Linked DNA regions of Homo sapiens: regions 1, 2, 4, 5, 6 and 7 are each linked to region 3. The links are contacts of gene promoters, found by promoter capture Hi-C in blood cells and fetal thymus (Javierre and others, 2016). All regions are on one chromosome and are shown on one strand. The core of a region is centred on a gene start or on the middle of the fragment in contact, and the rest is flanking DNA. Distances in the headings are between cores, read along the strand shown. Region 1 holds the start of KISS1 (KiSS-1 metastasis suppressor). Region 2 overlaps PLEKHA6 (pleckstrin homology domain containing A6). Region 3 holds the start of SNRPE (small nuclear ribonucleoprotein polypeptide E). Region 4 overlaps ETNK2 (ethanolamine kinase 2). Region 5 has its middle 7.9 kb from the start of REN. Region 6 overlaps PLEKHA6 (pleckstrin homology domain containing A6). Region 7 holds the start of ETNK2 (ethanolamine kinase 2).

Region 1 (3,823 bases), core at 1,317-3,816, 330 kb after region 3:
AGGAGCAATGCCAGCTGAGCAAAAAGATTGTCCTGGCCTGACCCACAGCCTGGAGCCGCTCTCCCTGGGGAAGGGGGACTGGGGGATGAGAACCTTTTGTGCCCATCAGCTCCTAATGGTGGCTCAGGCCCATGCATCTCTCTGCTCTTGCACCCACACCCCCACCCCCCATTCCTCACCCAGCTCCCTGCAGGACTCAGGCATGGAGTAAAGAGTAAGAACCCTGAAATGGAATGAGGAGTACTTGAATCTTGCCCCAGCTCTGCTTTCATTCCCTGTGAAATGTGAGCAAGTCACCCCCATCTCCAGACCTCATTGGTCCATCTATAAAATAAGAACCCTGGATCAGATTGGCCACCAGCCACCTGCTCAGAAGTTTACTTATCCTTGCAGACTTTGATACTGTGACAAGTTGAAACCCAGACCACAGCTTTCTGCATTTACCTTAAGGCCCAGGGCTGGGGCACGGAGTAGAGGTAGGATTAATCCATTGGAGAGAATAGTGTAAAAGCATTTCAGACCGTGGATGCACAGGGTCTGGGTTGATTTGGAAATCACTCCTTGAGCACCGACTAGGTGCTGGTGCTGTGCTAGGTGCTAGGGGTGCACAGGTGTGCTAAGACAGAGTTGCTGCCCCCAAGATCTCAAGTCTAGCATGAGAAATTAACTCATCAGCAGATCATTTCAAAATAACACTGTAAATGACATACCGGATGCATGTGAATCCACAAGGGGATATGGGAGTCCAGGGGAACCCAACCTAGGAGGACCAGGCAGATTTTTGGCAGGGGGTGGCACTTGAGCTGTTTCTGAGCATGAATCGCTGAAAGGTTTACAGAAAGTGTTCCCAGGACGGTGCTAAGGCGCTGAAGCAAGGGCAGGGGCTGAGTGCAAAGGGAACTTCAGGCCCTCTAGCTAGACAAGAGGATGGAGCTTTGCATGGAGAGAAAGCTAGTGACAAGGCTGGGGGAAGGGGCCCTGCAGGGGCTTCATCCTGGAGGGGTCTGAGCCAGACAGGAATGTGGGTAGATGTACATTTCCGGTTCTCTGTGCGGAAGCAGGGTGGTGGGCCAGGAAGGAGGGCAGTGGGCTTGTGTGGTTGGAGGGTGGTACTCTTTCTTCCGGCTCCCCTTTCCCCCCGAGTGCCTCCTTCCCACTGTGGATGGCACTTACCATGTGCGCCATGGGACAACTCTGCCTGACCCCAGCACACACACACACACCCCCCACACCACACACATACACCACACACACCACACATGCACACACACACCACACACATATATACGCACACACCCATACACATATACACGCATACACCCATACACACACATCATACACACACACATACACCACACACACCACACACATACACCCATACACACACATACACATATGCCACACACACCACACACGCATACACACCACACACATATACACACATACACCTATACACACACATCATGCACACACACCACACACGCACACACACCACACACACATATACACACATACACCCATACACACAACATACACACACACATACACACATCCATACATACACATCATACACACACATACACCACACATACCACACATGCACACACACCACACAGATATATACCCATACACCCGTACACATACACTACACACCACAGATGCACACACACGCCACACACATATACACACATACACCCATACACGTACATCATACACACACATACACCACATACACCACACATGCGCACACACATCACACACATATACACACATACACCCATACACACATATCACACACACACACACACACACACACACACACACACACAGATTCCACTGCCCAGCCCATCGGGGCACTTAACATATATGGTAGAAATGAATTATTTGGAAAGGGGCCATGAGTGGCCGACCTGCTGTAGACAATTTTTGTGGTTCCCTCCACCCTGGGGGGTTTGTATCCAGTGAGTGACAGAAATTCCAGGCATGGTTGGAAAGCTTCTGGAGTGAAGTGGCCCCTAGTTCTTAGTGGGTAGGTAGATGCCCTTGGTTAGGCTTGTATTTGCCATCTGTAATTTGGGGGGAGCTGCTCAGAGGAGCCCCATTGCTCTCAAGAGCCCCGAGCGGTTCCCTAGGTCCATCCAAGCGTGTCTGTGGTCTCTAATTCCAGCCACAGCATTTATTTATTGCATGTATTCCTTCCACAGCAAGAGAGAGCCCTCGGGATCCCCAGAGTGTTAGCTTCACAAATAAAGTGCGACTCAGTGTATTCGCCCAGGCATCCCAGGATAATCTGGCCAGGCTGGTAAACAGGAAAGATCAGTGTCTCCCTCCCCTGCCTTTGCCTGCCTGGATGCATCTGTCCGTCTTAGAACGGATTCCCTGCTCCCCTCCAGAGCATCCCCAGGTCAGGGCAGACCCCCTTCCCAGGGGTGGACACTGCAGTGTGCCTACCTTGCCTCAGTCCTGGCCTGGGCAGGAGTCTGGCGGAGCCTCTGAGGTGACGAGACCACCTGGCTGGGTGAATGTCCAGAGGGTGGGCAGCTGGGCTCCCGGTCTCAAGAGTTCTCCCCAGCTCCCTGATCACATCCCTTTTATAAAGCCCGGGGTGACGTCTCCAAGCACAGGCCCACTCTGCCGCCCCTCCCTCCTCCTCAGACCCTCCTGAAGAGCATGGCACCTTGGGAGGCCTCTGCCTCCGGGCTCTGTGACTGGAGGCAGCCTCTCCTCCTGCCCCACCCGAGCCCTCCGAGGCGGGACTTTCTCCTTCTTACCGGCTCTTTCCATCCTCCACACCCTCTTCCCACCCAGAGGACCCATCCTGCCCCCAAACAACGTGGAAATGGGCTATCTGAGGAGGGTGGGGAGAAGTGTCAGTGTGAAATGTCTTGTTTCCTCTCCGAAGAGCCACAGACACACCTAGTCTGAATTAGACGTAGAAAACGACAGGAAGAGGGGAGGAGAAGGGCACAGGCTGACCCAGGGGCTCCTCACATCCCATGCTCCCAGCTCTGAGGGAAAGCCAGGTCAGCGTGGGTCTCCAGGCGGCTCCTAGACTGCGCCCTGTGACTGGCACAGGGTGGTGGTGGCAGAGATTCTCTCCTTTTTCCTTCCTTCCTGCTTCCCTTCTTTCCTCGGTCACTGAGCGCTTCCTCAGCGCAGGGTTTTGAGGTGAATAGGCTATGGACTGGTCAGAGACCTTAGGTAAGCAACCAGCTATGAGCAAGGAGGACGAAATGGGAGCTGCAGAAGGTGGATGCACCTGGGAAGTGCCAGGGGTGCAGAGAGGGGACTTCCAGGTGGCAGCACATCCAGACAGCCTGCTTGGGGGCCCCACCTTCTTGTCTCGTGGCACCCACCACCATACTATTTTGTGACTGCTCAGGTACAGCACTTTGAGGACAGGGACAGGCCCCCTTCCCCCTGTACCCTTGGCACCCACTCCATTGCTGGGCACATACAGAGAGGGCCCTCAATAGATATTTGCTAACTGCATGCATCGCAAGTGACTTTTGTCTCTTTCTTGAGCCTGCAATAACTCTCTATACCCTTGGACAAGGGGCTCTCCAGGGCAGAGACTGTTTCTTCTATCAGGCTGGGAGTCTCTGAAGGCAGGGGCTATGTCTCTACCCTCAGACAGGACGCTCTCCCAGCACAAGCTCAACCTGGTCGTCCCCTAATGCTGGAGAAGCATGCCGGCAGTCTGCAGGTTAGCACCCCTCACTTGTCTGATGCTTACTGTTAACAGGGGATTGCAAACATATTATTATCACACCCATTAGGGCTGTTAAACACCAGGACAGAAATGATAGCCTATGAGGACAGC
Region 2 (3,444 bases), core at 394-2,893, 360 kb after region 3:
CTCTCACCTGTTTCAGTCAGGCCATCCCTCCTCCTGGGGAGGGGGCTCATTGGCTAGAAAGATGCTAAGGGGATGCTACAGCTGTTTGTCCCCTGACAGAGATTCCATCTATCTAACCTTCACCCTTCTTCTAAGGCCACTTTTATGCTAAATAAAGACACTGAGATAATAAATTTCCTTGTACAGTTTATTGTCTAATACTAGCAAATCAAATTGGCCCCAATATGTGCATAAATAGATATACGTGTGTGTGTGTGTGTGTGTGTATATATATATATATATATAATGTGTGTGTATATCATATTTTTTCTTAGTTTTAAGAGCTGCCAGGTAGAGGGTGCCTAAAGGGGAAAGGAATTGGTTCCCTCTTGCCGTAGCCAGCCCTGCCCAAGAACATGCCTCTCCCAAAGGCCGGAGAGCAAGTGTGCCACTTGTGCCCTTAGAAAATCTTCAAAGTGACAGTAGCAGTATTTGACTGCAGCCTCTTGGTTATTGATCATGGAGGTAATGTGCTCATTGAGAAGGCCCTGGATGAATAATCAGAGCTTCCCCAGGTGGGTCACTTAGCTCTGGACCCCCATCTGGGCTCTGTTCATTCAGAGCAGGATGTTCTAGGCTGGCGACAGGGTGTCAGTAAATGCCCCAGGTGGGAGGCCAGGCTTCAAACGCTGGCCAGGAGCTCTGCTCTAGATTCCCAAGCCCTTGATTTCAGACCTAGACAAAGACTTCCATCCTGCCCAAATCCTTGCAAGGCCAGAGACCCTTTCCCCACTTTGATGGTTGACAAAGGCTAAGCAGCTTGGAAGGCTGAGCTGGCTTAGTTCGGTGCCCCAGTGGCAGCCTGCTGGGGTAAAGTCCCGGGGGTTTCTTGGGTGAGGTTGAGATGCCACCTTGTCTGTAGGACCCTCCTTGGCCCAGAGGCTGATTTCACAGTCTGGATACCAGACTGAGGTACCATGCCTTTGGTACAGCCCCCAGAGAGAAAGGTTGCAGAGGGGGGATGTCATAAATGTGACCCAGGCCAGAGAGGGATCAAGTGAAAAGGAGTGTGACAAGTCCAAGGAACTTGTATGTGTCTGTGCTACAGGGCCAGGGATGGCCCAGAGGATCCCAAGCCGCCTCCTCTGGGCTTCGCACCGTCTCGTACACTGACATCCTTAGTGCTGTTTGGCATAGGCTGCTGTTACGCTGTCTGCTCTTTCCAGCAGGCTGATGAAGAGGGGTAGTCTAGCAGCCCATCTGGGGTGCATGCCTGCATGGGTCTCCTTTGTGCATACAACTGCAAACAGTTCCTTCCAGAGGATTCACGCCTGACAACCGCAGAGGGTCATCAGGAGCAGACAGTGTAATAAAATCCTTAGGCCAGGACTTCCGAGGGAATGCCCTGCCCCCGGCAAGATGCTTTCTGGGTGAGCTCTGGGGACCAGCCCTTTCGTGACTGGGGAATAGGATGGAAGGAAGCCACTGTGGCAGAGGGACAGGCACAGGGTTGGGACCTAAAGGCAGTTACCCCATCTCCTCACCTCATTTGCCAATTCCATTCAGACATTGCACAATTTGAAAATAGATTTGCTTTTTTTAAACAAAAGCATAAAATAGATGTCTTAAAATAAGTCTTTCCTCTCCCCTTCTTTGGATCAAAAAGGCAAGGGGTATGGTCTTGATATGCTAGGAATGATGTGGAAAATAAGGGAGAGAAAAACAGGCCTGGGCAGGAACTGTAGGAAAAGATCAGACATCCAAACAAATATATTACATATATAGATCTATAATATGTATAATCTCCATAAAACATATATTAAGGCATGTAAAGCAACATAAAGAGCCAGCTTTATGAAATAAGAGATGAGAGAGAGGTGGCAGAGGCGCAGACATTATTTCTTGGTATTTTACATGTATTTCTAAAAAATATTACTTTAAAAAAAAAAAAAGAGACGGACAAAGTGGCAGGCATGGAAGGCCCTGAAAAATCTGTTTCCTGTGGAGGGAGAAAGGCTTGGGAGAAAGAGAGAGAGAGGAAATGACCTGGGAGCCAATCCCACCTGCCAGTCTGCAGGGGAGAAAGGGCAGGTTTGGGGTGCTTGAACTGTGAAGATGGGAAATACAGCCAAGGGTCACGTTTAAAAAACCTGCTAGAAGTGAAGATCGGTGGAATCCTCCCAGGCTGTAATCCCTCAGAAACATGAGAATATCCTAAGCACCTACAACAGTGCCTGGTACATAAAAGGTGCTCGATAAATATTTGTTGAGTAAATTGTCATCTTTACTTGCATATGAACCAGTAACTGTCCCAGCCATGAAGGAGTGCAGAGGAATTAGTAGGTGTTCTTGGGACCGCTGGAAGTCAGGCTGAAGCCTCTGAGCGGCAACTCTAGCAGAGAGAAGGCCGAGGGGCCACGGTGTCTTCAGTTTCCCTCCTTCCTCCTCTCTGGCTACATTCGTCTCCAGGTGGGTGGAGCTGAGGAGGAATGCGTTTGCTTTTCTCTGTCTTCCCCGCTGCCCTCCCGGGGCAGGTGGATCATGAGAGCGCCTAGCCTCAGCCAGTCCTCGTCTGGGATGCCTGGGATAGGGGGATAGGCCTCCCAGATTAAGGCCTCATCCCCCCTCCTCAAGGCGTACTCTCAGCTGGCCCACTGCACATTCCAGGGGGAACAGGGCAAGAAATATCATGGAACTGGGTAGGTAAGGCCCCAAGGCTGACCACACCCTACATAAGACAAGTCCTTCTCTCTGCCCCTTACCCCAGGATGGCGAGGCAGACACCAGGCACAGACCTACTAACAGCCATCTCCCAGGCAGTCGCTACTCAACCCCCTTCACCCAGATCCCCACACCAAGCATCTCCACTGAGGCTGCATGTGCTCCACTGGTGGGTCCTCCTAGGGATGAGGTGGGAGGAGCAGAGGAGACAGTCTGGCACTGCACTGGGCACTAACCTAAGGCTCCACCGGGGGAAACCAATCTGATATCCCCTTTCCATCTCCCTCCTTCCTGCTTGACTTGCCAATGTGTCCTGCTGCTTCCCCCTCCTTCCACTCTGAGGATCTCTCTCTCTCTCTCTCTCTCTCTCTCTTTCTGTCTCTCTCTCTCTGCTACCCTTCCCAACCTGCCCTCAGACACTGCACAGACCTGCTGTTCTCTAGCCACAGCCAGCACTGTTCCCTCTGGGAGCCAATGGCCTCTCCCCATCTCTCATCACCTTGTCTTTGGCTCAAGCAGGGTGGTCAGTCTCCACCGGACCCCAGCGAGCACCCATAAGCAAAGCACTGGGTTTGTGTCAAAGCCCTGGGTCCAGCTGAGGCAGTAGGGTGGGGCTGACGAGGATAGGGATGATGACAAGTGCTGTCCTTGGTGTCAGGCTGGCTCCAGAGGCAGTGTCCATCTCCTCTTCACCTCTAGTCCTCACATAAGATAGCCACAGGTGTGTTCTCCACCACGGCATGT
Region 3 (3,824 bases), core at 384-2,883:
GTCTCGCTCCGTCACCAAGGCTGGAGTGCAGTGGCATGATCTCGGCTCACTGCAACCTCTGCCTCCTGGGTTCAAGTGATTCTCCTGTCTCAGTCTCCCAAGTAGCTGGGATTACAGGCATGTGCTACCATGCATGGCTAATTTTTGTATTTTTAGTAGAGACAAGGTTTCACCATGTTGCCCAGGCTGGTCTCGAACTCCTGACCTCAGTTGATCCACCTGCCTCGGCCTCCCAAAATGCTGGGATTACAGGCGTGAGCCTGGCCGCTTTGTGTAGTTTAAAAATCACTTTCAACTCAACCCCTTTCTGAAGTCGTTATTACTATTATCCCCATTAAACAGAAGCCCTCAGAAAAGCTAATTTTGATTCTGCCATTTGCCCTAATCCGTGTTCCCTTAGGCAAGTCCTTTCAAAAGTCTAAACTTCAGTTTCCTCCTCTATAACATGTGTATGCCAATTAAGTGAAATCTCTGCCAGGCCACAAGCCATGACACAATGGAAAGGTAGGTGGACTTTGGGGTCAGGCACACCTACAAATTCCAGCTGCTCCACTTAGTAGCTGTGTTATCCAGGGAAGGACATGTTCTGACACTGGCTGACGCCTAACTGTGTGCACACATAGACAATTATTTCATTGAATCTTTAAGCCCCTGAGTAAAGTTAATCTTTACTATAATCTCCGTTTTGGAAACTAAGCCAAGACATGGCGAGGCTGAGTAATTTATCCTTGGTCACCAACTCTAAAAGAGCTGGATTTGCGCCCAGCATGTGGATTTCAGCGTCTTCCTGGTAAATCGCCACCCTCAGTTGCCACCTGAACAGTAACTCTCCACGAAATGGATGAGAATTGAATCCGTAACTGGAGGGAACCAGGCGTCTGGCTTTGGAATGCAGACCGCCTCTGGCCGACTGCCAGAGGTGGGAGGCCTGAAGTTTGGGCTCCTTGCCGCCCTACCCTTTCCACCACAACGCTGCTATCAAGCCTAAACTCCAGCAAAATAGGCTTTAGGAAAGGCACGAAATTAACTCATTTTACACATAGAGATACACACTGGGACGATTTTGGCTTTTCAAGCTAACTCAGAAAATGGAGATACAGGCCGGGCGCGGTGGCTTACGCCTGTAATCCCAGCACTTTGGGAGGCCGAGGCGGGCGGATCATGAGGTCAGGAGATCGAGACCATCCTGGCCAACATGGTGAAACCCCGTCTCTACTAAAAACACAAAAAATTAGTCGGACGTGGTGGCAGGCGCCTGTAGTCCCAGCTACTCGGGAGGCTGAGGCAGGAGAATCGCTTGAACCCTGGAGGCTGAGGTTGCAGTGAGCTGAAATCGCGCCACTGCACTCCAGCCTGGGCGACAGAGCGAGACTTCGCCTCAAAAAAAAAAAAAGAAAAGAAATTGGAGACAGGACGGCACTCCTCCTACCACGGCCACTATACAACCGAAGGCACCTCCTCCCGCCTCCCTCCAGGTGGCGCTGTAGGACCGGCCCACCTTCCACAGCGCAGACGCCTCAGTTTGGCCTCCCTCGGAGGCCATGCAGCGAAGAAACGTGACTTCATGGCTAGAGGGGCATTTCCCAGGAGCCGCCCATGCCGCCGCGTGACCTTCACACTTCCGCTTCCGGTTCTTTATTCCGGAAGTTGCTCTCAGAGGCAGCGTGCGGGTGTGCTCTTTGTGAAATTCCACCATGGCGTACCGTGGCCAGGGTCAGAAAGTGCAGAAGGTTATGGTGCAGCCCATCGTATCCTACGCAGGATGTCAGGACTAGGAGGTTCGGGTCAGAATACGGGGTGCGAAGGCGCAGGCTGAGGGCAGGCCTGGGATAGTGGAGTACGGATCCACATCCCATGAGCCCCCGGGGCTACCAAGACTGGAAGAAAGCGCGGGTAGTTGAACCGTGATGGTGGGGAGGTGGTCTTGGGGGGACCCCTGCCGTGGGGAATGCAGGAATGGACGCGGCAAAAGGAGGGAAGAGAACTTCAGGTGCGGAGTGAAAACGGGAGTTAACGGTTTTGGGAAACTCCAGGGGGATGAAAGTGGAATGGATGTTCTTTAGTCTTTAGAAGACCCGTAACGAATGCCCAGCTGGGCACTTGTTGTTTGCGTAAGCACCAGACCTCGCGTTTAGTAAACAAAGGTGAGACGGGAATAGCGTCGTCCGGTTGTTTCAGGAAGCAGAGTCTATGCTGCTTTTGTATTTTTTCCTTAGCCACTGTGGTGCAGAACCTCATCTTCAGATACTTACAAAATGTACGTAAGTTGCTTGTTTCGTAACTACTTTTTAAATAAGAGGTGAACTGATTTAGTTTTTTGTGTTAACCTGAGCGATCGCTGTGTTCTAGAATTTAAAAATAGATGTAACTGGAGATTGGAGGGTAATTGAGGGGAAGGAGTACTTAGAAAGCACTAATGTGATGAAGTGGTGTGTATCCATGCCACTTCCCAACATGCAAAGAATTGTATCCATTACTTTGCAAGATCAAAAATACTTTTTAATTCCAAAAAGTATTATTAGCAGACTTGACCATGGTATTTGGGCATCAGTAGTTTTGTTAGTAGTGATTATGGCTAGAACATTGGAACCTCTCCCCTTTAGGATGAAACATTGGAAGAAAAACCCAGCCAACTTAAACCATGTCAAGAGGTGGTGTGTTTAATACCTGTGGGAAAACTTAAAGACGAAAAAAGGAAGAGAGAAGGGGTAGCTTCAGAGGAGTTTAGTGGCAGCTGCTTTCCTTTGAGGGAAATTTTAGCAACTTAAATTTTATAGTGTGATAACACAACTGAAAAACATTAATTTCAGGTGATAATAATTCTTAACCACCTGAATTGAGGGCTCCTGTCCTAGTTGTTAGGTGTGTGACATGAGAAGGCTTTGTTTTGGAACTGGATTTTGCTGCAGGAGATAAGCCCTTGGTCATTAGAAATTACTGCTTTGTGCTATGCTGTCAAAAACTTTCACTCTTAATAGATTGAGACCAGAAGCAGTAAGAAATATTGAGTCCCAAAATCACAGGAAAATTATTAGCTTATACAGTTCCAATATAGAACTTATTAAATGAAAATTCTTTTTGAGGTTATTATTATTGGTGAATAATTCTTAGATATGGGCTAATTAGTTAAAACTTTTGACTTACATTCATTACAATTTTTTTAGGAGCCATATTTCTCTTGTCGTTTGACCAAAATGGTTAGGTTTTGTATACTTCAATTTTTTGGGGGGCGGGGGGCGGGGAGATCTTGCTTAATGTTGCGCAGGCTTATATTGAACACCTGGCCACAAAGCGAATTATTCCGCTTTGGCATCCCAAAGTATGGGAACGGTGTGAATCGAGGCACCTGGCCTGTTTTTCTTTTCTTTTTTTTGAGACGGAGTCTCACTGTGCCCAGGCTGGAGTGCAGTGGCGCGATCTCAGCTCACTGCAACCTCTGCCTCCCGGGTTCAAGCGATTCTCCTGCTTCAGCGTCCCGAGTAGCTGGGACTACAGGCGTGCGCCACCACGCCCAGCTAATTTTTTTTGTATTTTTAGTAGAGATGGGGTTTCACCATGTTAACGAGGATGGTCTCTATCTCTTGACCTTGTGATCCACCTCCCTCGGCCTCCGAAAGTGCTGGGATTACAGGCGTGAGCCACCGCGCCCGGCCCTATTTTTCTTTTTTTAACGTTTCCACTTTTATGATTATTTCAGAGATCGCGGATTCAGGTGTGGCTCTATGAGCAAGTGAATATGCGGATAGAAGGCTGTATCATTGTGAGTATCCAGGCGATTTCATCTCATAGCAGTTCGGTCGTAGAAAAAGACTTAACAGAAAGTG
Region 4 (3,702 bases), core at 122-2,621, 270 kb after region 3:
CCCCTTCTCATCTTTGAGTTTCTGCTCTTCCTTCTGGCCTTCTGAAAAAGTGACGGATTGGTTCCAGAAATCACTCCTGCCTGTTCTCAGGCAGAGCAGCCCCTTCCCCACCCCACTGACAGCTGGGAGCCAGACATGACCGAGGAAGGTGTCCTGAGCACTTCTATTTAGAATGTCACTGGTTCATCTCCTGGGTCAACCAAAGTCCTTGTAATCCACAGCCTAGTTCCCCCTAAGCAGTGCTTTACCGGGTTTAACTGGTAGGTTCTACTAAGAGAGTCAAAGGCACAGAAGCTGAGTGAGAGAAATAGGGGGCCCTGCCCAGAGCCTTCGGAGCTAGGTGCACAGGAGGATGTGTGCAGGCGGCTACCTTGACTTCAGCATGAAGCCCAGGTGGAGGGGGGATATCAGGAGGGGTTACAGCACCCCTCAGCCCCCACGCAGGGGTCAGTTCCTCACCATTGTCACTCAAGACACAGCAGTCCGGAAATGAGCATTTTAATGCAGAAAGAAAACCATGATAATTTACAAATGAATCACTTTCTGGGCCAGAGCCAGGAAGGCCCCAGGAGCTGTGAGGGTAGAAAGGGAGGTGGAGGCTGTTGAGTGTCCGGGCAACCAGTTTAGTCAGCACCTTTCTGATGGGATCCTGCCCAGGCTCTCCCACGATAGGCCCTGGGGGGCCCTGGCCCCCACCCCATCCTCTTGGCTCCCTCTAGTCATTCCAGATAGGAAGACCTCGGGTCAGCTTCAGGACATAAAGTAGAGCTGGAGAGACATCCCTGGAAGGAGGGCCTGAGGGCCAGGGAGGGAACAAGGCAGGAGACTGCTGGTTCTGGTTTTGGCCACCTCACCCTTGGCCACGTCCCCTCCGGCTAAGCCACAGCACAAAGCAGAGCCAGGCTCTGGAGGCCCAGGGCCTCACCACTCCCTCTCCTGTCCCCCCAGCAGGGGGACAAAACAGAAGCACAGGAGAGCACGTTGGGGAGCATGTTTCCTCGGGCTGAGGTTTGATTGGATCTGGTTTGGAGAAGGTGAGGGATCTCAGAGGAGGTGGCTGCTGGGGAAGATGTCATGCTCAATTCTTGGCCCCCACCCATCACCAAGATAGGTACATCCATGTGTCAGAGTTGGTGTGATGCTGGTTTGGAGCTCAGCACCTCCCACATGGGGCATGCAGGGGGAGACGGACTGGAGGCTCAGGGCACTGGAGGTAGAAAGGAGCCCTCCCCGCCTCCTTCCCCAGGCCAGGAAGGGGTAAACACACATATAAGGCAGCCCCAATTCCAGCAGGGCCTGAGGCTGGGAATGATGTGTTTCCCAGGGGTGGTTATGGTTCAGGACCTGGCTGCAGGCACTTCCTCCCAAGCCTGGTGGGGTGAAGGGGACCCCCGGAAGGGGGTCCTATCAGCCCCTCCAGACAGGAGAATGAGGTCTTCAGTGGCAACCACTGGGGTCTGGCGGCAGGGACAGAGCCTTCTCCCTGGACACCCATGTGTCCCCTCTCCCACCCTGTCCAAGGGTGTGGATCCCAGAGTGCAGAATTGAGCTCTGGAGAACAGGTCTGGCCAGACAGATGGGTAGGGGAGGGATGGGGTGGCTGGTCACTTTGGCATCTCCAAGGCTGACGCTTGAGGCTTCACCTTGAAGTACTGGTTGAATCGGATCACTGCGTACCTGTGGGGAAGACAGAAGGAAGCTGGGTGTGAGGAAGAAAGCCAGGTGGGCCCTGCTGGGGGTGCTGACATCATGAGAAAAGTTTTTCAGTGGCTCTAGGCCTATCTAAGTCTGAGCAGATCAACCCCAACCCAGACTGATTAGTATTATTATTTCTTTTGCTTCTTTTTAAAATTTTTAATATTTATTTATTTTGAGACAGGGTCTGGATCTGTCACCCAGGCTGGAGTGCAATGGCATGATCTTGGCTCACTGCAACCTCTGCCTCCCGGGCTCTGATGATCCTCCCACTCAGCCTCCAGAATAGCTGGGATTATAGGTGCACGCCACCACACCTGGCTAATATTTGTATTTTTTGTAGAGACAGGGTTTCACCATGTTGCCCAGGCTAATCTTGAACTCCTGAGCTCAAGCAATCCGCCTGCCATGGCCTCCCAAAGTACTGGGATTACAGGCATGAGCCACCGTGCCCAGCCTATTTTTTTTTTAACTTCAACTACATTTTTTTTCTTCTTAGATCAGACTAGAGAAACCCTTCCACAAACATGCTTGTTTGGAGTTTTGTTTTTACCGTTCTATATTGTTAAGTATATTCACATTGCTGTGCAAATGAATATCTACAACTTTTTCCTTTTGGACAACCGAAACTAGACCTATTAAGCAATACTCCCCATTGCTCCCTCTCCCCACCCCCTGGCAACAATTCTACTTGGTTTCTATGGATTTGACTACTTTAGTTATCTCTTAAAGAACCATATTTGTCTTTTTGTGACTGGCTTATTTAGCGTAATGTCCTCAAGATTCATCCACGTTGTAGCAAGTGACATTTCCTTCGTTTTTAAGGCCAATATTCTATTGCATGTATAGACTATATTTTATTCATTCATTCATCTGTTGACAGACAGCTGGGTTGCTTCCATCTCTTGGCTACTATGCCAAGAATAATGTTGCCATGAACATAGGTATATAAATATTTCTTTGAGAGTTTGCTTTCAATTATTTTGGCTACCCACCGAGAAATGAGATTGTTGGATCATACGGTAGTTACATTTTTATTTTTTGAGGAACCACCCTACTGTTTTCCATAGTAGCTCACCATTTTACATTCCTACCAATGGTGCAGAAAGGTTCCAATTCCTGCATATCCTTACCAACAATTATTATTTTCTGTTTTTTAACAGCAGCCATCCTAATGGGTGTGAAGCGACATCTCACCATGCTTTGCTTTTTTTTTTAATTAAATTTTATTTTTTTATCATTTCATTTTATTTTATTTTATTTTTTTTTTTTTTTGAGACGGAGTCTCGCTCTGTCGCCCAGGCTGGAGTGCAGTGGCGGGATCTCGGCTCACTGCAAGCTCCGCCTCCCGGGTTCACGCCATTCTCCTGCCTCAGCCTCCTGAGTAGCTGGGACTACAGGCGCCCGCCACCACGCCCGGCTAATTTTTTGTATTTTTAGTAGAGACGGGGTTTCACCGTGTTAGCCAGGATGGTCTTGATCTTCTGACCTCGTGATCCACCCGCCTCAGCCTCCCAAAGTGCTGGGATTACAGGCGTGAGCCACCGCGCCCGGCCTCACCGTGCTCTTCATTTGCATTTCTCTAATAGTTGTGAACACTTTGAAACCAGGGTAGTGATTCCCTTTCAGCTGAAGGTGGGTGAGGAGGAGAAGGGCAAGGCCCTGGACCAGAATGGAAGGAGAAATGATTCCTGGCCTTAGGTACATAGGAGCCTCACAGGACAGGGACTCCCTGAATCATCGATACACAAGCAGCGGCTAGCTACTGAAGGAGTAGCTGGGGCTGTCGCCCAACCAGAAGGCAGCATGGTAAACCCTTAACCACTGCATGGCTTCAGCAAGTCACTTCTGCTCTCTGGACCTCTGTCCTCTCTGCTGTAAAATGAGGGTAAGACCTACAGTCGTTCAGACTGATTTTCAACGATCCCATCCACCACCAGGCTCTGTGGATAGGTGCGCTGGAAGCAGGGTGGGGAGTGGAGTAGGCGGTAGGATTTCGTGGGGACT
Region 5 (3,898 bases), core at 968-3,467, 310 kb after region 3:
GAACTTTTACATACTCCTCAGACCCTTGCTGGCACCCAGGTGTCTGCGGTCATCAGTCACCTCTTGATCCCAACCTCTTCCTCTTCCCCCTCCCCTAAATGTAAAAAGTAACCTAAAAGTCATGCTGACTTCAGATGGTTCTTTATGACGCTAGTCCACCATCTTCTTGGTTTTCTGAATAGGGTCGCTTTCTTTGCCCCAACACCTTACCTCTCAGCTTACTTGCTGTTGTGTGGTGAGTGGTGTGTGCTTGGATTTGGTTACATAATCCTCTGGAAGCAGGGAGCTGGGGGAGGAGGGGGTTGTCTATCCTCTGTTGACCTAGTAAGGGTGGGAGAGAAGGGCAGTCTTCAGGGTTTTGGCTTCTGCTAAATAGAGGTAGGGCAGCTGATCTTCCAACTTATTCTCCTCTTTCTGCTTGGCTCTAACTCCCTTTTAGGCCCTGGTTCTCTGCCTCATTTCCTTTTCCCTGTAGCTTTACAAGCAGTCAAGTACAGCTCCCCAGACAGACATCTGGTCCCTAAATCCCAGGATGAGTGCTATTTATTCAGGCTAAGATGCCTATCTTGGCTTTTCCCTGATTATTTTTTAGGGCCCACTTCAAATATTACCCCCTCCTCCATGAAGCAGGCCCTGACTCAGCCTGGAATTGACTGCTTTCTGCTGTAGGCTTCCACAGCATGGCTACAAGCCCTTCTATGACAGCACCAACTTAGCTGCTTTTGCAGCAGAGTTCTTTATGTATGTATGAATATGATTTTTGCCCACAGTGGTGCTTAATATTTATTAAGTGGATGAACTAGTGAACTGCAATGGGCAGTGCAAAGAGCCCTGGGTTGGTGGTCAGGGACTTGGATCCTAGTCTTCATTCTACCATAAATTTGCTATGTGATGTTGGATCCCTCCTTTCTCCTCTTTGGACCTCAGTTTCCAAATCTGTACAGTGAAGCAGATGGCTGGATGGCACCAAGGGTGTCTTCATGCTCTGATACCCTAATATTCTAATATTCTGTGCCTCCAGGGTACTGCCCTCTACACCAGCTCCACACCAGCTGTGGGCAGTACAGACAATGAGAGGAGCTCATCTCTGTGGCTAATGTTTTGGCTAATTAATGTGTTTTGACCTCAGAGATGATAAGGCCCTTTCCAAACGATGGACCCTAGTGGTGATTTTTCAGGAACTGTGGTTGGGAGTGGGGGAATTATTTGGGGACAGGGGAATACTTTTAGATCCTTCATGGTAGGGGTATCTTGTCAGAATAAATGAACATTTATGAAGCACCCCTAAATTGCTCTTTCAGTCCTCTTTCATTTACTAGCAAATATTCATGGAGCCTTTATTATAATGTGAGGCACTCTGCTAGATGCTGGAGTTACAAAGTTCACAAAAATAAACACAGTTTCTGCTCTTGTTTATGGATCCCACCGTCTTGTGGAAGAGATAGATTATTATCATCATGCATAAATATAAAATAGCGCTGATGACTAGTGCCAGTCAGGGAACTCCAGGAAGCTTCCCTCCCACCCAAAATTATACTCGCATTGTGATCTGAAGGCTGCATTGGCAATGAATAGCTGAAGACAAAGAAATAGAGTCCCAGCAGGAACAGAACGTGCGAAGGCCCTGTGGAGAGAGGATGATGTCAATAAAAACAAAAAAAGCCAACATATCAAGAACAGAGAGATGAGAGAGAGCGGGGTGAGACATGTGGCCAGAGGCAGGAGCTGAAAGAGCTAACACTTACTGAATACTTACTATGTGCAAGATACCACTCTAGGTGTTTAATGCACTTAATTCTCACAATAACCATATGAGGTTGTAGCATTATATCACTATTTTACAGATGAGGACATTGAGGCCCAAGAGGATTCAAAAGGTAACTTGCCCAAGGTCCCACTGGCAATAAGGGCCAGAGTCAGACAGTAAGTTTAGGCTGTGTGGCCCAGAACCCAGTACATAGATGCGCTGAGTGTCAAACCATAAAGGTTCTTGCATCCCATGTTAGGAAGTTCTGTGTTTACCCTAAGAGCCATGGGAAGCTGTTGACCCATTAAGAAGTGAATGAATGTAATTAGATGTTTTTGCAGACAGGTGAAGAAGGGACTGATGGGCCAGGTGCAGTGGCTCACGCCTGTAATCCCAGCACTTTGGGAGGCCGAGGGGGGCGAATCACCTGACGTCTGGAGTTCAAGACCAGCCTGGCCAACATGGGGAAACCCCGTCTCTACTAAAAATACAAAAATTAGCTGGGCGTGGTGGCAGGCACCTGTAATCCCAGCTACTCTGAAGGCTGAGGCAGGAGAATCCCTTGAACCCGGGAGGTGGAGGTTGCAGTGAGCCAAGACTGCGCCATTGCACTCCAGCCTGGGGAACAAGAGCGAGACTTTGTCTCAAAAAAGAAAAAAAAACAGAAGGGAATGTTGTAATTAGATGTGTTTTGCATGTGTTTCGGCTGCAGTGTGGACTAGCAAGGAGTGGGGATGGGTCCAGAATAGCATGGCATATACCAGTTAGGAGGTCATGGTGCTAGAACTAGCTTGGTCTAGGGTACTTGGGCATGGTGAAGATGAAAAAGATTGGATGGATTTGAGAGAAATTTAGGAAATAGAATCTGCAGGACTTGGTGACAGATCGGATATAGAGAGTGAGGAAGAGATTGGTTTTTGGAGGCACTCTGGGTACATAGAGTGATGGAAGAGAACGAGGATTTCAGAAGGGGAAGAGGGTTGGAGAGACCATAAGTTTGAGGAACTGTTGAGTATGGATCTCCTTTGAGACATCCCAGGGGTGATATCAAATGGCAGGTGCATAAATAAACCCGGGTGAAAGATTTATGTGTTATTTGCAATTGGTGATTAATGCGACAGGTATGAATGAAATTAGCCAGGGAGAAGGTGAGCAGCAAGAAAGCCCTGGACTCTAAGCTTTAAGGACAAGCAGCAGAGGAGGAATCTGCAGAGGAGACCCCAAAGGAGTGGCCACAGAGGAAGGAGGAGAGCAGCAGGTGTCTCTGAAGTTGCAGGGAGAGACTGTTTAAGGAGAGATGGTGAGGGACAGTAGGTGCTGCTGCAGGGTGAGGTGAGACTTGGGTTAAAATGGAGACATGCGGGCCACTGGTGCTGTCAGTGGGAGCTGTTTTGGTGATTCAGAGGGGTGGGAGTCCACACAGGGATGGGTTGATGAATGATGGGAAGTGCTACGATGTGAATGTTTGTGTCCCCCAAAATTCATAGGTTGAAATTCTAACCCTCAATATAATAGTATTAGGAGGATGAACCTTTGGAGAGGTGATTAAGTCCTGATGGGATTAATGCCCTTATAAAGGGGGCCCAAGGGAGCTCTTTTTTCCCCTTCCACCATGTGAGCCACAGCAAGAAGATGCCACTCATGAACCAGGACAAAGGCCCTCGCCAGACACCAAATCTGCCAATGCATTGATCTTGAACTTCTCAGACTTCAGAACTGTGAGAGATAAGTTTCTGTGGTTTATAAGCTACCCAGTTTATGGTATTTTTTAATAGCAGCCTGAACAGACTAGGATAGAAAGTAAGAAGATGAAGACAACATAGTGTAGGCAGCTATTTTGAAAAGTGGAGGAGTAAAAAAGGGGAAAGAGGGTGACGATAACTGGAGGAGAACGAGGACCAGGTGAGAGGTTTTTCTCTTTCTTCCTCCTCCTTCCCTCCTTCCTTCTCCTCCTCCTCTCCCTGACGAAATGCTTAAAAGGTAGCTTGACTCTTTGTTCGGGGCTCAGTCCTTTAGATGTTAATCCGACTGGGTCGGTGCACCTAAATAATTAAATAATTCCTCCTCAACCCCTCGGTCTCTCTGATTCCTTAATTATCCCGCTGCACTGCCAATCTTTTCTAATGATGGGAGGGAGTTGAGTATATTTAA
Region 6 (3,745 bases), core at 319-2,818, 490 kb after region 3:
ACCCAGAGAGGTTAAGTAATTTTCCCAAGCTGAGACCCGGCTTAAGGTTTCTGCCTTGGGGAACCTCCTAGGAGAGTCTATCCTTTTCTTTTTTGGCCACCAACATATGTAGCATATGTCTGTATCATATACAGCATGGTCGTTTGCTCACTCATCTGCTCCCTTACAAGAGCGTGAGTTTAAAAATTTTTTTTTGACCGGTCACAGTGGCTCACGCCTGTAGTCCCAATACTTTGGGAGGCCGAGGCAGGAGGATCACTTGAGCCCAGGAGTTTAAGACTAGCCTGGGCAACAAAGTGAGACTCTGTCTCTACAAAAAATAAAATAATCAGCCAGGTGTGGTGGTGCATGCCTGTGGTCCCAGCTACTCAGGAGGCTGAGGTGGGAGGACTGCATGAGCCTAGGAGGTGGAGACTACAGTGAGCTATGATCATGCCACTGCATTCCAGCCTGGGGGACAGAGTGAGGCCCCATCTCAAAAATAAATAAATCAAAATAAAAATTCATTTTTGCAACCTAGTACCTGCCTGGTACATAAGGAGCATGCAGTAAGTATGTACCCAAAGCAAATGGTAGGGCCAGGCTCCCAAGTTCTACCCACCACTTAATTCCATGCTGTCTCTACCACATCACCCTGTCTCATTCACTCAGCCAATCAAAAAGCAGTTACCAACCATTTTGTGACTGGCTCTGCGTGAAACATCACAGATACAAATAAGACAAATCAGGCCATCTCTTGCCTTGAAGAAGTACAGTGGAGTGAGAGGCAAGGCTGAGGAGAACAGGGAATAAATTCCCCACCACTGCCCTCACCCAAGGCTTTCTCATGAGTGTTTCTCTGTGCCTGCTCCTTGGGGCCTAACCCTCCCATCCAAAGCTTCATATATCCAACCAACATTTGTTGAGCACCTACTATGTGCTAAGTACTGCCCTGTAATCACTCATAGTTGTGGGGAGAGTTGGCAGGATTAGAAGACAATGGAGTCAGGAATTACTGGACAGCAGAGAAGTGACTGAGAAGGTCAGAGTCCAAGAAGCAGTGGCCAGGGCCACCGGGAGCATATGGAGAACTTTAAAGAGCTTTCACATTTGATGTGATCATGGACTTTCAGGTCGCATTGCTTTATATTCACACCTACTTCCTACACCTAACTCATTTGATCCTTGGTGATAAGGGCAGGGTGGGAACTATTATTCCCATTTTAGAGATGAGGATACTGAGGCTCAGAAGGGGAAAAGCATTGGGTTAGGAGGAGGAAACCTGGGTTCTAGACCTCACTTGTCATTCAAACAGGTCTCAGCACTACGCCTCTATCACCATACTCCCACCCGCACCACCCCACCAAAGCAGGTTTTTCTTCCCTGCTCCGATCCCCTTCAATTCCCCAGTGAGACAGCCCCAGTTTCAAGTGAGGTTAGCAGGATTGCTGGATAGCCTGGATCCAGTCCCTGGATAGCCCACTGCTGCTCATGTGGTCCCAGGAACCAAGCAAAACCAGAACAATGACCGCACCACCTGAGGCTAGGTAGAATTTAAGAGGCTAATTGCAAGAATTTGTCTAATTAAAAGCAAATTGGCACCTGCAATTATAGATGCCTGTTCTTCTCAGATCATGATGAGCCAGACTGGGGGGACACAATGATGTCAGAGCTAAGGAGGGACCTCACCTCCTCCTTAAAGAGGGCCCTAGGCCACCTCACTGCAGAAGTGGAGCTCCGACTAACCCGAGGAAGACATAGCTGAAACCAGGGTGGACCAGCTACCATGAAGCCTCAGCACTGATGCATGTTTATCAGATCAGCACTGGCAGCTCCAGCTCTATTTCCTGAATTCACACGGTGAGGACCAATCCTTTACAGAGACTAAGTGGGTGACCTGGGAGGACTTGACAGTATCCCTGAATACCAGCTACCCTAAAAACATTTCCCACCAATCCACCTCAGCACCCATCTGGTCTTTGAGTTAAAGCCTTGCCTTCCGAAATATGATGTTCAGTAACTGACATTTGTGTGATTATTCTCAGTTTACAAAGCACTTCCATGTACATTACTCACCTAGGTATCAGCTAGGTAGGTGGTAGTGATACTAACCCCAGTTCTCAGGCTAGGAAGTGAAAGCTCAGAAGGATTAAGTAACTTCCACAAATCATATGGCTACTACTTGGGTCAGGATTTGAACCCATGTCTTCAAATTCCAGATGAGCCTTCTCTCCATGACCACAGCAGGAGCTAACATACGGATCATAATTAGTTTATCAGATAAGCTTGCGCTACTTTAGAAAGTGCAAAGAGGTCTCATGGGAATGAGAAATGCTGGGAAGATTTGACAAGGGAGAAATCAAGACAGGATGTGCACACGGCCGTGCAGGGGCGCGGACAGGGGCTGCAGGAGTACCAGCCCCAGTGGAGTATCCTATAAGCCATGCACCTGCCAGAAGAAGCCCCCAGCAAGTGTGCCATTCCAGGGGATTCTCCTGGAGGAAGTGGCTGCCCTGGGCATGTGTGTGGCCACCTCACCACATTCTGTGCCAGTAAGGCCACAGTTCATGTGGGGGCTCCAGGAAAGCTCAAGAAAGAACTTGAGGGTCTTTGGAGGAACAGGGGCACTTAGTCTTGAACAAGGAGACTTGGGAGGGCTTGGAGGGAGAGAGACGATTATACCTGTCTTCAGATATCTATGTTTCTCATGCAAATCAACAAGGTAATAATAACAAACACATTTATCACTTATTCTGCTCAGCAGGATTCTATGTGCTTGCATATGTAACCTCATTTATCTTCACAAGAAGCTTATGAGATAGGTAGCATTATCTTCATTTTACAAATGGAGAAACTGAGGCACAGAGAAGTAAAGCCACTGTTAGCATCATATCACTGGTAAATGGTAGATTCCAGATTCAACCTGAGTTTGACCCCATAACTACGTTTTGTTTGTTTGTTTGTTTGTTTTGAGACAGAGTCTTGTTCTGTCACCCAGGCTGGAGTACAGTGGCACGATCTCGGCTCACTGCAACCTCCGCCTCCTGGGTTCAATGGATTCTCCTGCCTCAGCCTCCCAGGTACGTGGGATTACAGGAAGCCAGCACCACACTTAGCTAATTTTTATATTTTTAACAGAGATGGGGTTTCACCATGTTGACCAGGCTGGTCTCAAACTTCTGGCTTCAAGTAATCCACCCGCTTCGGCCTCCCAAAGTGCTGGGATTACAGGCATGAGCCACTATTCCTGGCCAACTGTGATCTTAATGACTCTGCACACACTGCCTTTTAAGAAAAGCCAAAGACTCGAACACACAAATATGTTTATTACATGGACATATTATATATTGCATTGTTATTAATATGGACAATGTCACATTTGATAAGTCTCTTTTTAAAAATTGTCTCACTCCCAGTCAAACAGATGGATCGAAGCAATAAATGAAAACCATGAAAAAGTTGTAATACTCAATGTTGATGCTCATGGCACACACACACACACACACACACACACAAAAAAAATCCATTCTCAGACACAGCTGCGAGGAATGTAAATTAGTGCTTTTGAACGAGGTATTTGGCAAAATATTTTAATAATGTAGCCATTTCACTTCTAGAAATGCAACCTAAGGGAAAAAAGTATTGATATGTGTGAAGATTCAGATATTTATATGTTCATTGTAGCCTTGTTTATAAAAGTAGAAAATTGGAAATACCTAGTTTAACATAGGGGCCAAATCAACAAATAAATTGAAAAGGTATATAA
Region 7 (3,580 bases), core at 56-2,555, 290 kb after region 3:
ACCAAACTGGGCCTTTTATTTTGAAAACGCTACTCCATCCCCAGGGCGGGTTCTGTCAGCCTCCACACTTGGTTAAGAACCTCCCCACAACTTTGCCCCCACCCCACCCCAGAATGCCTGTCTGCATGGAGCCGCTACCATTCCAGCACAAGCTACAAGCGCCCCACTCGGCACCTTCCTCCACAGGCAGCCCACAGCGGGGCTGGAGGTAGTCAGCTGGGGAGTTAGCCTAAGGCTCAGTGAGTGGCTCTGCCCACAGGTGTGTCCTGGGACCTGTGTCCAGCTGGGGCTGGGGAAGATGGCCTGTGTGGGGGTGCTGAGCCCGAGCCTGCAGCGATGGTGAGGAGCTGAGTGCTAGCTGGAATTCCACAGGGTGGCTCCTGGGACCCACAGGGGCAGCTCAGAGCCTGGAGGATTTGCTCCCACCATGGGGTGGAGAAGGGGCAGCAATGTATGCATGTATGGCTGGGTCGGGGGGGCGGGGGGTCTCTTAAAAGTTCCCGCCTCCTCAGGTTTCAGAGCTGGCTGGGTACGCGCTTCTGGTCAGCGAGGGGCACCAGCACGCAGCGACAGGGGGTGCGGCCCGCACACGCAGCATGCCGACAGTGGGCAGGTGGCCACCAGGCGTGCCTAAGAGCCCCGGGAGGAGGGGGGCGTGTGCAGGGCCAAGGGAGGTGTGAGCCTAGTTTTGGTAGCGACGAAATCAATCCGTACACAAACCACGTTCCAAACCTTTCTTGCGCAGCAGCCGCGCACCCCTGGGACTGACACCCGGAAGGATGCGAGGACTGGGTCCCCGCATCCCCCTGGCAGCCCTGGCAGGACCCCATCCTCGGCCCCGCGCCCACTCCGCTACCTTGGTCCGAACTTGCTCGGGTTTCCAATGCGGCCGCAGCTCCTGGATGAGGCGCAGGGCCCCGGGAAGGATGTCGTCCGGGTCCACGGAAATGCCGAAGTACGCGACGGCGGCGGCCCTCGGGGGGCCCGGCGGCTCCCGGCAGCTGGCGCTGGCCGCCGCCTTCTCCTCCATGCCCCATGAGCACTGCGGGCAAGGCGTGTGCCTCCTCAGGTGAAAGGACGCGCGCGGCTGAGGGGCCGAAGGGGGCACAGCCATTCCCAGCAGCCCCACCCCCTCGGAGCCGCGGCAGACGCTAGCCCCGGCGGGGGGGTCCGGCGAGGGAGTGGGAGTGGTAGAGGAGGGGCCAGGGGAAGTCCATGACTCAGGCGCGAGCTGCCCGCTTCGATCGCCGGCTCGCGGCCCGCCGCCCACCGCCGACCCCGGAGCGCCGCGGCCCGCCGCGATTGTGACATCACGGGCGGTGGCCCGCGGGAACGCCCCCGGCCCGCCCCCGCCCCGGCCCGCGGGCCGCTGGGGAGCTCAGCCAGCCACCGCCGGCAGCTGAGGCCGCCGCTACCTGGAGCGCGGGGTGGGGGCGACGCCCCCCTGGGGGCCGGTGACGCCGGGGGTGGGGCCTCCGCTGGCTCCGCCCCGCCCGGGTCCCCGCCGGGGCTGGCTTCCCGGCCTCCGAGGCCGCGAGACTCCAGCTCTCTCCCGGTAGCCTGGGGTGGAGGCGGGGGAGGGCTCGTCCTGCGCCCCCACCTCATCCTGGAATAGAGAGATCCGCTGCTCCCACGACGTCAGCTTGGGCTCGCCCCTCTGTGCCCCTGCTCCGTGCCCCCAGTCCCCGGACCCCGGGAAATGGCTCTGCAGGGGCGGCCCCTGCTGCATCTCAAAGGTCCTTCCCTGCAGAGAGCCCCCCCCCACACCCAGGCAACCTCCCATCCCCGACAGAAACACACTGCATGAAGAGGGGACATTGGGTGATAGCGTTGGGGTGAGAGTGTGCCAGTCCAGCAGACTGCGCTGTCCCCTGGCAGGCCACTGAACAGCCAGGGCGTTGGAGTGTTTGGGCACATCCTGGGCAGGACTTGGGGCCAGACTGAGTTAAAGCCTCCCTCCCATCCTGAGCGTGTGAATGGAGCCAGGTAGCAGGCCAGCGGTGTACCCGAGCCCAGTGCTTTGCTTGGCATTCGGGGTGTGAAGTGGACAGACCCTCGCGCGTCCTGGGGAGGACAGCCAAATGCCTGGCGCAGCTAAGGGCCAAAGCAAGGCATGGTGATGGCTGGGGGTGGGAAGGAAGGGGAAGGGGTGACAAGGTGTCCCGGGGCAGGTTGCTGTGGGGAGGAGACATGGAGAGAGGCCAGGCCGGCTCAGGGGGCAAGTCCCTCTACTAGCCAGATTCTCCTTTGGTCATTCTCTGCCACCTTCTGAGCAGGGCTCTGTTGGCTGCCAGCCCTATTTGTTGTAGTGAGGCCTCAGGGATCTCACTAGTCACTATCTCTCACTGCCCCACCCAGAAAAGCGCCTTCAGAGAAGGGGCCCTTTCCTATTTTCCCAGTTACCCCTTTGGCCTATCCCGGAACCTCTCAACCGCAAGGCTCCTATGCTTACTGCGGTCCAGAATCCAGCTCTGCCTAGCAGAACTTCTGCAGTGATTGAAATGTTCTATATCTACTGTCCAATGCAGTGACCACTAGCCACGTTGATTTTATTAAAAAAATTTTTTTATTTGAGACAGAATTTCGCTCATGTTGCCCAGGCTGCTGGAGTGCAATGGTGTGATCTCTGCTCACCACAACCTCGGCCTCCTGGGTTCAAGCGATTCTCCTGCTTCAGCCTCCTGAGTAGCTGGGATTACAGGCATGTGCCACCACGCCCAGCTAATTTTGTATTTTTAGTAGAGACGGGGGTTCCTCCATGTTGGTCAGGCTGGTCTTGAACTCCTGACCTCAGGTGATCCACCCTCCTCGGCCTCTCAAAGTGCTGGGATTACAGGCGTGAGCCACCGCGCCCGGTTGATTTTATTCAATTTTAATTAATTTTAATTTTAGTGTAAATAGCCACATGTGCCTACCATATTGGATAGTGAAGGAGATAATGGGGGTCGTGCCTGCCTTCCTAAGGTCCTGGAGCTCCAGGATGGAGCTGGAAAAGACACTGGCCACCAACACTTCCTTTGCAGTGAGGAAGTACAGCTATGCAGGACAAGGGAACATGGAGAATCAGTGGGAGTCCAGGGTCCTGAAGCCCAGGCTCCGGCTCTTGGCGCTACACAGGGACTCTTGCAGATGGCTCCCAGAGGTACTGAGGGCCTGGTTGGGCCATTCAGTGCCTCACGACTTTCTGTCAAAAGAGAGGTGAGCAACTATGGTGAAGAGGGATGGCTTCAGTGGCTCCAGGTGGATGCTAATTTCTCATTCCCCAAGTTACATGTGCCCTGAAGACAGCCCAAGGAGTGAGAGTGGGAGAAGAGACTTCAGCCTGACGAGTCCCAGGTGGATGGGATGGAGGATAGCAGTGTGTGTGTGCACCTGTGTGCTTGTGCACGTGGCCCTGTACCAGCGTGCGTGAAGCACTGTACTTATGACGGTACCAACTGCTTATGATAAGGTGGAAACCCCCAGGACCCAAGTCAGACGGGCTGGGTTCCAGTCTTGATTCTTCACTATCTTTCAGTATTCTTCACTACTTGATTCTTGACCGAGTAATCTTGGGCAAGGCCTTCCATTCTCTGGGCCT

What was found. The method cuts DNA at HindIII sites, captures the fragments that hold promoters and counts their contacts. A CHiCAGO score of 5 or more calls a contact.
Region 1: a contact is called between the fragment with the promoter of KISS1 here and the fragment with the promoter of SNRPE in region 3, in 5 of 17 cell types (M0 macrophages, endothelial precursors, M2 macrophages and 2 more). The highest score is 8.6, in M0 macrophages.
Region 2: a fragment that was not itself captured here is called in contact with the fragment with the promoter of SNRPE in region 3 in 1 of 17 cell types (endothelial precursors); the score reaches 5.8 in endothelial precursors.
Region 4: a contact is called between a fragment that was not itself captured here and the fragment with the promoter of SNRPE in region 3, in 16 of 17 cell types (neutrophils, M0 macrophages, M1 macrophages and 13 more). The highest score is 27.4, in neutrophils.
Region 5: a contact is called between a fragment that was not itself captured here and the fragment with the promoter of SNRPE in region 3, in 1 of 17 cell types (endothelial precursors). The highest score is 7.2, in endothelial precursors.
Region 6: a contact is called between a fragment that was not itself captured here and the fragment with the promoter of SNRPE in region 3, in 2 of 17 cell types (endothelial precursors and erythroblasts). The highest score is 5.7, in endothelial precursors.
Region 7: the fragment with the promoter of ETNK2 here is called in contact with the fragment with the promoter of SNRPE in region 3 in 8 of 17 cell types (endothelial precursors, M2 macrophages, M1 macrophages and 5 more); the score reaches 17.9 in endothelial precursors.

What each region holds. Positions count from the first base shown.
Region 1 is chr1:204,193,925-204,197,747 of GRCh38, forward strand. KISS1 (KiSS-1 metastasis suppressor) reads right to left here and starts at 2,567. Exons shown (of 3, transcript NM_002256.4): 1 at 2,452-2,567. The HindIII fragment of the contact is 3,737 bases long and covers 1,994-3,823 here.
Region 2 is chr1:204,218,977-204,222,420 of GRCh38, forward strand. PLEKHA6 (pleckstrin homology domain containing A6) reads right to left here. Exons shown (of 23, transcript NM_014935.5): 23 at 1-3,444. Among named protein-coding and RNA genes, the nearest start is that of GOLT1A, 6.7 kb to the left of the region's middle. RefSeq lists an enhancer at 3,125-3,444. The HindIII fragment of the contact is 4,983 bases long and covers 1-3,444 here.
Region 3 is chr1:203,859,966-203,863,789 of GRCh38, forward strand. It overlaps SNRPE (small nuclear ribonucleoprotein polypeptide E), which reads left to right and starts at 1,634. Exons shown (of 5, transcript NM_003094.4): 1 at 1,634-1,748; 2 at 2,231-2,257; 3 at 3,698-3,760. The coding sequence starts at 1,695. RefSeq lists enhancers at 1,416-1,710, 1,519-1,778, 2,164-2,739. The HindIII fragment of the contact is 9,598 bases long and covers 1-3,824 here.
Region 4 is chr1:204,130,580-204,134,281 of GRCh38, forward strand. ETNK2 (ethanolamine kinase 2) reads right to left here. Exons shown (of 8, transcript NM_018208.4): 8 at 483-1,677. The coding sequence ends at 1,605. Among named protein-coding and RNA genes, the nearest start is that of ERLNC1, 9.0 kb to the right of the region's middle. RefSeq lists enhancers at 1-306, 323-859, 860-1,395. The HindIII fragment of the contact is 8,100 bases long and covers 1-3,702 here.
Region 5 is chr1:204,172,297-204,176,194 of GRCh38, forward strand. No RefSeq gene overlaps it. Among named protein-coding and RNA genes, the nearest start is that of REN, 7.9 kb to the left of the region's middle. RefSeq lists a promoter at 1-3,898. The HindIII fragment of the contact is 1,412 bases long and covers 1,512-2,923 here.
Region 6 is chr1:204,352,508-204,356,252 of GRCh38, forward strand. All of the region lies in intron 1 of PLEKHA6 (pleckstrin homology domain containing A6), which reads right to left. Among named protein-coding and RNA genes, the nearest start is that of PLEKHA6, 5.5 kb to the right of the region's middle. The HindIII fragment of the contact is 1,387 bases long and covers 876-2,262 here.
Region 7 is chr1:204,150,739-204,154,318 of GRCh38, forward strand. It overlaps ETNK2 (ethanolamine kinase 2), which reads right to left and starts at 1,306. Exons shown (of 8, transcript NM_018208.4): 1 at 857-1,306. The coding sequence starts at 1,114. RefSeq lists an enhancer at 385-1,084. The HindIII fragment of the contact is 8,626 bases long and covers 1-3,580 here.